2 separate regions of the Homo sapiens genome follow, and region 1 is linked to region 2. The links are contacts of gene promoters, found by promoter capture Hi-C in blood cells and fetal thymus (Javierre and others, 2016). All regions are on one chromosome and are shown on one strand. Each heading gives the region's core, a stretch centred on a gene start or on the middle of the fragment in contact. The rest is flanking DNA. Distances are from core to core; before and after follow the strand shown.

What was found. Contacts are between HindIII fragments. The CHiCAGO score rates a contact against its expected background, and 5 or more counts as called.
Region 1: a contact is called between a fragment that was not itself captured here and the fragment with the promoter of RPS7 in region 2, in 2 of 17 cell types (naive CD4 T cells and naive CD8 T cells). The highest score is 10.0, in naive CD4 T cells.

Annotation. Positions count from the first base shown.
Region 1 is chr2:2,051,820-2,057,434 of GRCh38, forward strand. It overlaps MYT1L (myelin transcription factor 1 like), which reads right to left. Exons shown (of 25, transcript NM_001303052.2): 4 at 2,159-2,304. Among named protein-coding and RNA genes, the nearest start is that of MYT1L-AS1, 260 kb to the right of the region's middle. The HindIII fragment of the contact is 1,905 bases long and covers 2,124-4,028 here.
Region 2 is chr2:3,572,227-3,577,423 of GRCh38, forward strand. It overlaps RPS7 (ribosomal protein S7), which reads left to right and starts at 3,034. Exons shown (of 7, transcript NM_001011.4): 1 at 3,034-3,124; 2 at 3,366-3,458; 3 at 3,591-3,662; 4 at 4,261-4,404. The coding sequence starts at 3,384. It overlaps LOC124907726 (a long non-coding RNA gene), which reads right to left and starts at 2,883. Exons shown (of 2, transcript XR_007086196.1): 1 at 1,909-2,883. RefSeq lists enhancers at 2,587-3,162, 3,163-3,739 and a silencer at 3,291-3,580. The HindIII fragment of the contact is 5,628 bases long and covers 1,694-5,197 here.

The DNA.
Region 1 (5,615 bases), core at 1,826-4,325, 1.5 Mb before region 2:
AGAAATTCATTACCAGAAAATATAAGAAACCCTGTTTCTGTCTCATTAAGAAACTTAGCCATATGATCTACAAATTCAGTGCAATCCCTCTCAAAATCTTAAGGTCATTTTTTTTTCAAAAATAAATATATTGCAAGATTCGTAAATGTTAAGAGATCCCCAAATAGCCAAAACTATATTGAAAAAGAACATAGTTAGAAATTTCATACTTTCTGATTTGAAAACTTACAACAAAGCTACTGTAATCAAAATAGTGTGGTACTGGCATAAAGACAGAGAAACAGACCAGTAGAACAGAATAGAGAACCCAGAAATAAATTCTTGCATATACGGTCAAATGATTTTTGACAAGGGTGCCATAACCATTTATTGGAGCAAGGACAGTCTTTTCAACACACAGAGTATACCCACATGCAAAAGAATAAAGTTATAACATTACCTTAAACCTGTAAAAAGAAAAATTAACTCCAAATGGGTTAGCAACTTAAACACAGAGGCTAAAGCTATAAAACTCTTAGAAGAAAATAGGAAGGATCAGCTTCCTGACATTGGATTTGGCAATGATTGATTGGATATGATACCCAAAGTATAGGTTAAAAAAATGTCTAAATTGGGCAACATCAAAACTTAAAACAACGAAATGTTTGTGTGTCAAGGGACACTACCAACAAAGTGAAAGGCAACCCATGAAACAGCAGAAGATATTTGCAAATCATATATATGATAAGGAGCTAATATCTATAATATATAAGAATTCCTACAACTCAAAAACAAATAACTGATTAAGGCAAAGGACTTAGACATTTCTCCAAAGAAGACATGCAAATGTCCCATAAACACATGGAAAGATGCTTAACACCACTAATAATGAGGGAAATGCAAATCAAAACCACAATAGGATGCCACTTCACATCCATCAGGATATCTATTATTTTTAAAAAAGAAAACCACAGGAAAGAGTTAAGTGTTGGCCTGGATATGGAGAAATTGGAATCCTTGTGAACTGTGGCGATAATGCACCACTTTATGGTGCAGCCACTATTGAAAAGAGTGGCATTTCCTGAACAAATTAAAAATAAAATATGATCTACATGATCCAGCAATTCCACTTCTGGGTTGATGCTCAGGAAATGTGAAATCAGGGACTCAGATATATATTTCTACACTCAAGCTAATAGGAGCATAATTCACAGTAGCTGAAAGGTGGAGGCAGCACACGTGTCCACTGACAGATGTACAGTGGACTATTATTCAGCCTTAGAAAGGAAGGATGCTCTGACCCATTCTACGACATGGCTGGATGTTGAGGGCATTATGCTAAGTGAAAGAGAGCAGTCACAAAAGAACAGATACCGTACAATGCCACTCACATGAGGTAAGACTAGTGGTCATATTCACAGAGAGAGAAAGCAGAATGCTGGGACCCAGAGAGTGTGGGGGAGGCCTGGGGAGGTAGTGTTTAACGGGGACAGGGTTTCAGTTAGGGAACGAAAAAGTTCTGAAGACGGCAGGTGGTGACCATTGCACCACTATGTGAATACACTTGATATCACTAATTGCACATTTGAAAACTGTAAAAATGGTAAATTTCATGTTATATGTATTTTACAATTATTTTGAAAACAAAAGGCCATAACCTGAAGTTTTTCAAGAAGCATGACTCCCAGAGCCCACAGTGGCAGCAAGGGACGTTTGTCAACAGTAACTGACAGAAACCTACAGGAACCCTAGGCAATGCAAAACAGGCCCTAATTAATGACCTTCTTAATTTCCTCAAATATAAAATATCCCAAAATAGAACTAATAATGGACACAGGGATCTGATTTTAAAGGGGCTTTGTACAAGGGAGCTTCTCTATGACTGCTGAAAGGTGAACCAGGCCTATTAGTATGCTTATCAATTCTTCTTTTGGGTGATGTTATAACTAGATAACAGAAGGCTACTTGAGTCTATGTTTACCAAGAGATTACACATTCTGACTTTATATTGAATTGTTTATTAAAAGCAAGAGGTGTTGTATTCTTTATCAAATAAAATGCTGCTTCATTCACAAACCTATATTTATGCCTTTTCAAAGTAACATATTTTAAGGTAAATATGCAAAACACCTGTCTGCATGTAAAGCTTAAAATATTAATACCACATAGAGTTCCTCACCTTTAGGTGGCTCCTCGGATATCCATACGTCTGTGAGACCAACTGGAACCTTTCTTGATGGAATTTTGTTGATAGCTTGAAAGATGCAAACACTTGATTGAATTCAATAACTACATTTTTTTCTTCTTCCACCAGATGTGGCCACTCTAGAGAAGAACAAAAAGGCAGAATAATGAGGCTGATATTCACAGTAAAAGCAAAACTCTACTTGAGGGACGTGATTGTCAGGTCTTTAATGCATCTGCTGCAAGTAGGCAATGAGGCCACGCTGGGTGCACAGACACATGGAGATGATGAGACATACAGAGATGAGATGCATGGGGATGATGACACAAATGGAGATGAGACACATGGAGATGATGAGATGCATGGACATGAAACACTAGGAGATGAGACACATGGAGATGAAATACACAGAGACCATAAGACACATGGGGATGATGAAGCACATGGAGATGAAACACTCAGAGGTGAGATCATAGAGACGCATGGGGATGATGAGACATATGGAGACACATGGAGATAATGAGACACAGAGATGAGATCCATGGGGATGATAAGACACGTGGAGATGAGACAGATGCAGATGAAACACACGGAGATGAGACACATGGAGATGAGACACAAGAGATGATAAGACACATGGAGATGGAACACACAGAGATGATGAGAGATACGGAGATGAGGTGCATGGAGGTGAGAAGCATAAAGATGATGAGACACATGGATATGATGAGATGTATGGAGATGACAAGACACATCATGAGCACATGGAGATGAGATACATGGAAATGAGATGCATGAAGATGAGACACAAGAGATGATGAGACACATGGAGATGGAACACACAGAGATGATGAGAGGTATGGAGATGAGGTGCATGGAGGTGAGAAGCATGAAGATGAGACACATGGAGATGGTGAGATGCATGGAGATTATGAACACATGGAGATGAGATACATGGAAATGAGATGCATGGAGATGAGACACAAGAGATGATGAGATGCATGGAGATAAGATGAGAGGGATGGTGGTGACAACAACCTCGTATCACACCCAATTAATTTCCAATAAATCATTCCTTATAGAAAAACCTTTTAAGAAAATTAATGAAATTACTCTTTGTAATATAAAAAATACACAAAACTATATTCTTATAAAACTAAGGGAAAGAGTCATTTTTATGATTGAGTCTACAAAGTATTAAGACTACAAAATGTGTAGAAACAAATTACAGAAGCATACGGGATGTATCTGCACATGTATTTCATAGCTTATATCATCAGCGGGTTGTCATGTGTGTTTGTATTTTTGTCCTTCTCAGTTCAAAGGATAGCAAATAAGTTGTGATTTCCACATAAAAGATTTTACAAGAGCATGTTATTAATTAAAAAGCAAAACAAAATGCAACATCTTGGGTAATAATTTAAAATTTTTTATTTGTTATAGCTATAAAGCAACATCCAAATAGTGTTTAAAATGGGGCTTATGCATAAACTTCTGTGATTAATGTTTATATAGTAGGCACAGTTATTTCCAACACATTCTGAGCTATTACTTACTAAATTGACTAAGAAAGGTTGGAATGGTATTCGACATAGTGGTTTTATAAAAATGCAAGTTAATTCTCACCATTTGAAAGACAAAAAATAGACAAATTTAAATAAATCTTATAAACAAACCAACATAAAGCAAAACAAGTGATTGAGAAATAGTAGGATTGGACATTAATAATCAAAGCCACTCTAATATATTGCCAGTACTATGCTTAAAACAATCATAATATTTTGCTTTCATAAAATATTATTACGTTAATTTACACAATGACTTACTCTACTGGTAATCCTAAAAATTCATCTCTATCACTTTAAGCTTGTTAGCATGTTCTATAGATTCATCGTGTTGTCCATCGTTGTTTTGGGAAAAGTGTTTTTTCTATTCTTCAGTGTTCACAAAAGGTAACAAGGAGGAAGACCTGGAGACCATCAGGCCATTCCTGTGGGAGCAGCCGCAGTCCCAGTGCCTCAACGGCAGATATGACTGATCATTGTCAGGAGAGGGACAGGTTTTTCATTAAAGTGATAAGTATCTACAAAACAGAATTTTGTGGACAAAATGAAAGGTTTTATTTGGAGCGTGCTCTGTTCTCCAGGCGCACATTCACAAATCATGGAGTCAGGAGTGCCCTTCCCATTCCCAGGTGAAACAGCAAAGCACCTTCAGCCTCTCATCAGGGCTGCTTGTCCAAATACTCCAGTTTGGGTGCTCCTGGCTCCTTTCCTGGGTCCCTCAGGCTCTCCAGGCGTGAGGACACACCCTCACAAACATGAGAACCCCTCTTGGAGGAAGGGGAGTTAGAGTAATTGCTGGAGGTGAGACTACCTTTGTTCCAAGATGCATTCCCGTCTGGGAGTAATTTATGAGATGTAGATTTAAAAGCCACTGACAAATGAACTATAGGCTAAATGCCCTTGCAGGGTATATGATGCTGCTGCTTACTAAATGTGTGTGCACATCCATCCGTCCATCCATCCATCCATCCAACTACAGTGTGCTTTTAACAATAGGTCCTCACTAGGTAAAGATTCACAGAACAATTAGGTAAGGAGTGAGTGAGTCAGTGACCTCCTTTTCCCAGTTCTTCAGGTGCGGTAGGAAGGAATATGCACCCACGGTTCTGGCTGCTCACAGTTCCCTGTCACAGATGCTGCTTGTGATCACTGGTAATGGAATTCCCAGGATGAACTCTTAAACGGCATGTTTAGCAGGCAGCTTAGCTGCAAAACAAAAATAACAGCAGCCAGGCGGAAGCTCCTTGGGGCTCTCAGTCACACTCTGTTCTCAGCCAAAGTTTTGCTGGCCTTTCTCCTCATCCACCCTTCCTCTAATCTCCCAAATGAGAATGAGTGGGTTTTTCTTTACGGCATTTGTCATTATCTGGGATTATATCACACAGATTTTGGTTTTAAACTGTTTTGAGGTAACTGTAGATTCACATGCAGCTGGAAGAAAGAATACAGAGATCCCATGCACCCGTCTCAGTGTCCGCCAATGACAACATTTTGCAGAACCATAGCACATACAGGCAGAACGACATTGATTCCTCCCACCGATGTCCAGATTTCCTACTTCTCTTGTGTTCATATATGTGCATGCGATTTTAGCACCAGTGTAGGTTTCTGTGTCTATGACCACAGTCAACATGCAGATAACTATCACCGAAGGAGCAAGAGTTCCTCTGTGTCCTTTTATAGCCCCGCCCACATCCTGCCCTTTCATCACCAAGTCCACCCTCTTCCCTTTCATAGCCACGCCCAGCCTTTTCCTGTTCATCACCACGCCCACTCCCTGCCCTTTCACAGCCACGCCCAGCCTCTTCCTGTTCATCACCAAGTTCACTCCTTTCCCTTTCATAGCCACACTCACCCTTTTCCTGTTCAGAGCCACGCCCATCCTT
Region 2 (5,197 bases), core at 1,784-4,283:
TTTTGTATTTTTAGTAGAGACAGGGTTTCCCTGTGTTGGCCAGGCTTATCTCCTGACCTCAAGTGATCCACTCACCCTGGGTGGATTATCCCAAAGTGCTGGGATTACAGGTGTGAGCCACTGCGGCCCACCTGCATTGTTATTTTGAATGTATTTTCTCATAGTGTCAGATAAAGCAAGTAATTGTATTTTTGTGTTTAGGAAGCAAGGTTTTTATTACAGGAGAAAAGGAGATGCTATGATAGAATCGAGGATTTCAGAAGGAATTGTTCTGTTAGAAGTGGATTGAGAATGTCAATGTGAACTTGTATCTTTTATGAAAAAATTATTTTAAATGCCATCTTTCTAAGTTCTGTCCGCTGAAACGGCTTATGAGGAGCCCCACGATGCCTCCTGCTGCCAAAATTCTGGTCTCCAGTACTATTTTTCCAGAAAAACAAAAACAAAAGTATCAGCACTTCTAGGAGAAAAGGCTCATTCTATGTCTCAGGCAGAAAATTACAAGAGGAGCCTGGAATATCTTGTGCCAGAAAACAAGATGTTCAGACATTCATAGAAATGACAAGACTCGGCTGCTTATCTAAGAGGGGCCCCTCCTGGTCACAACTGAGACAATTTGAGGATCAAAGGAGAATATTGGCTGAGACTGATTGATGTACAGCAAATCTGAAATGTCCCATGTCCATAATGATACATAAAAGAGTTAACAAAGTGTTCTAAAAGTAAGTGGATTGCATAGATGATATTTCTGTTCATTGTCAATCATGTTGGTATTATCGACTCACTTATTGTATGGTTAAATAATAAAGAAGCTAGTACTAGTAAAACCAGGAAAACAATCTAATGTAATGATTAGTAGGCATTTCCTAACATAAAATTAGTAGAATGACCCTCTAAGTTGTGATTATGATCCTGAAACTACCTATTAAAAATACATGTGCAACCTCTATCAACTTCTATCAGGTTCTAGGTTTTAAAAATCACATTTCTTAGGATCTCATGAGGCTCAAAGCTAAAGAGTTAGAAAGGAAAAGCATTTATGTATATTAACAGCACATTAACAGCTAAAAAGAAAAACTCACATAATCATATTAGTTCATAGAAACAATGCATTTGACATACTCCAACATCCATTCATGATTTTATTTTATTTTTTATTTATATATTTTTTTTGAGATGGAGTCTCGCTGTCACCCAGGCTGGAGTGCAATGGCTCGATCTCGGCTCACTGCAGGCTCCGCCCCCGGCGGTTCACGCCATTCTCCTGCCTCAGCCTCCCGAGTAGCTGGGACTACAGGCGCCCGCCACCTCGCCCAGCTAATTTTTTGTATTTTTAGTAGAGACGGGGTTTCACCGTGTTAGCCAGGATGGTCTCGATCTCCTGACCTCGTGATCCACCCGCCTCGGCCTCCCAAAGTGCTGGGATTACAGGCGTGAGCCACCGTGCCCGGCCCATGATTTTAAAAAAACCTCTCAGAAATAGAAACAGAGGGAACTTCCTGAATTTGATTAAAAATACCTGCAAAATCCTAGAGCTAATATTATACTTAATGGTGAAAGACTGAATGGTTTTCCCCTAAGATGGAGAACAAGGCACGGATGTCCTTGCTCACCACTCCTATTCAACAAAGGACTGGAAACCAGAAATAACTTTAATTTTTTTTGTTCTCAAGTGATAGGTTCACAGAGAAAAAGCTTTACTGGATGAACTTTTAGATTACTACTTTTATAGAGCAGCAGAGATAAAAGCCAGGTCGAAAAGTGCATGTGGAGTAAGGAAATGGACCTAGTTCGACAAAAGGGCTCAGAACGACTGCCCAGATGAGATTGTAGACGCAGCTGTAGTTTACTTTCTATCTGGAAGAAACTTCAAGTTATCCTTAATTTTCCAAGGAGACAGTCACTTACCTTTTAAAAAACATTATTAGAGAAGCACCGGGCGGGAGCATATCTAGCATTAAAAATGTGGGATGAATACCATCTCTGCTTGGTAAAGGTGGTTGGGAATCCTGAGAGAGGGCACCTAGTGTGGCTTCTGCATTTTTCACAGTGCCTGGACCACGGCTGAAAGTAACTCTTGCATGACATTTGACAGAAGAGGAAACCGAAGCTCAGATTAAATTCCCTGTCCACAGCGGGATCATTCGGCACGAGTTCCTCCCTGTCTGGAATGCTCTTCCCCAGCAATAGATCCTGCGGCTCTTCCGTGTCTCAGTCTAATGTCATTCCGTTCCAGGATTCCCGACTTCTTAAAGCATAAATAATCCCTCCCCACCCTCTCATTGTACTGTTATGTAAGTTATTACAATATGTCATTATATATTTAGTCATACTGCTTTAGGTAATGTCTTCTCCACTGAACTGTAAGCTCCATGAGGGCAAGAGTTCAGTCGGTTTTACTTAATAATTAGCACCTAGTACAGTACTAGCATAGAATGAAGGCCTCGCAATTTTTTTTAAATTTATTTTTAGACAGGGTCTTGCGCTGTCGCCCAGGCTGGAGTGCAGTGGTGCAACCTCGGCTCACGGCAGCCTCGACCTTTCGGCTCCAGCGATCCTCCCGCGTCGGCCTCCGGGGTAGCTGGGACTGCAGGCGCGCACCACCATGACTGGCTAATTTTTTTTTTTTTTTTTTTGTAGACATGGGGTCTCGCCATGTTGCCCAGGCTGGTTCCTGAGCTCAAGTGATCCTCCTGCCTCGGCCTCCCAAAGTGCTGGGATTACAGGCGTGAGCCTCAGCGCCCAGCCAAGTTAGCCTTTTTTAAACGTCCTGTCTCCGGAGGTTGCCGAAGTTGGTTTTCTTCGGCCTCCTTCTCTCTCCCAGGCCCAGGGCTGGGACGAGGCCGGTTCCCGCCTGCAACCTGCACTGAAGACGGGAACCTTGGGAGCCGGTACCGGAACGCTCGGAAACGGCACCAAAGTACGAATCCTAGGGCGGAAAAGCGTTACCAAGACACTCGTCCCCAGAGCCGCTTCCTGGGACTCTCTAGCCTCCTACCGCTTCTCAGTGATGTTCCGGTTTCCGCCCTCCTCCTCGCGCTGTTTCCGCCTCTTGCCTTCGGACGCCGGATTTTGACGTGCTCTCGCGAGATTTGGGTCTCTTCCTAAGCCGGCGCTCGGCAAGGTAGGTTGGCGGCCTGCTCTCCGACAGAACTTTTCTTCTTGGGTTGAGGAAAACGCCTTTTGGAGTCAGGCCCTGGAGGGGCGAGCCTTGCTCACAGGGTGGGGATACAGCCGATTACCCGCCCTGTGCTTTCCGATGGCTTCTGCGGGGCGAGCGGGGCCTGGCCGGGGGGTGCGGGCGGGAGGGCGAGCCAGCGGCGCCTGCAGCCCGGGCCGCGTAACGCTGACCGCTGTGCCTTCAGTTCTCCCAGGAGAAAGCCATGTTCAGTTCGAGCGCCAAGATCGTGAAGCCCAATGGCGAGAAGCCGGACGAGTTCGAGTCCGGCATCTCCCAGGTGAGAGGGTTTCCCTGGGGTCTGGGGTGGGGGGAGGCGCCCCGCCCGGGAGGGGAGGCGGCCGCGCGTGTGTTGGGCCCGGGGTGCTCGGACGCGCGCTCAGGGTCGGTCCTGCTGTTCGTTGCTTCTTAGGCTCTTCTGGAGCTGGAGATGAACTCGGACCTCAAGGCTCAGCTCAGGGAGCTGAATATTACGGCAGCTAAGGTAAGCTGGCGCTCCCTCGGCTGGGAGGGAGGTTGCGGCGCGTCTCCCCGCGCAGTGCCTGAGAGGGTTGGACCTGGGTTACGGTTGATGATGACTTGCCGCCTGGCCGCCTAACCTGAACTCAGGTTCGGCCGTGTTGTTTGGGAGTGATACCGCCCAGGTGCGGGGAGTGGGGTTGCAGGTACCCTGCGGCTTAAGCTGTCCACATGCGGGCGGTGGAGAAACGTGGAGTAGGGAGGGCCTGGGCCCATTTCGGACCTTATTTGCCCTTACTTAGTTATAGATACGGCAAAGAGCTGTGGGGAGCTCAGGATGAGATTCTCTCTACCCTTAGCCCGGAGTTGCCGCAAGTGGGGGTGCAGAAGTGGTAGTGATTGGCCTCCTGGCCTGAACAGTCTCCCTTCCTGGAATAAGGAAATGTGAAGGTTGGAGAGAGATGAGAACATTTCCGAAGGATGCATTTATGATTAACTCAAAACTAGTATTAGTTTGTAGTGCAGCTACGGTGTTAGTGATAAGGTCTTCTTATCCTCTAATTTGACCACAACGTTTACTTTCTGAAGCAGTTAACACAGTGGATTTTTGTTTTTTTCTTTAGGAAATTGAAGTTGGTGGTGGTCGGAAAGCTATCATAATCTTTGTTCCCGTTCCTCAACTGAAATCTTTCCAGAAAATCCAAGTCCGGCTAGTACGCGAATTGGAGAAAAAGTTCAGTGGGAAGCATGTCGTCTTTATCGCTCAGGTATCTGTTCTACTGTTGCAGCACGTTTCTGTTTGTGAATTTTGCTAAAATTGCTTGTATTTAGACTGCATTGGTAGTTGGAGTCATGAAAACAATCCTTTTATGAATCCAATTGGGTAGAAAGATAAAGTACAGGCAGAGCGCCGTGGCTTAGGCCTGTAATCCCAGCACGGGGAGGTGGAGGCGGGTGGATCACTGTAGAGACCAGCCTGGGCAACATGGTAAGACCCTGTCTACAAAAAATAGAAAAAATAAGTTTTAAAAAGAAAGATAAAGTACGTTCTTTAATTAAGAGTCGAAACAAGAAGTCTGTAAAGTGACAGACTGCTGTGTTTTGAGTTATGAAAATGATTTCCCATATTTAAATTTCCACAAGTCTAGTGGGTTGCTTACATAGATGATCAAACTAAGAAACCTGTTACAGGCCGGGCCCTGTGGCTCACTCCTGTAATCCCAGCACTTTGGGAGGCTGAGGCAGGCGGATCACGAGGTCAGGAGATCGAGACCATCCTGGCTGACACGGTGAAACCCCGTCTGTACTAAAAAATACAAAAAATTAGCTGGGCGTGGTGGTGGGCGCCTGTAGTCCCAGCTACTCGGGAGGCTGAGGCAGGAGAATCGCGTGAACCCGGGAGGTGGAGCTTGCAGTGAGCCGAGATCCCGCCACTGAACTTCAGCCTGGGCGACAGAGCGAGACTCCATCTCAAAAAAAGAAGAAACCTGTTACAGTTCGGATGGGGGATTGGTGCAAACTGAAGTCTATGGGGAATGAAGTGCCAGGATTGATCTGGAA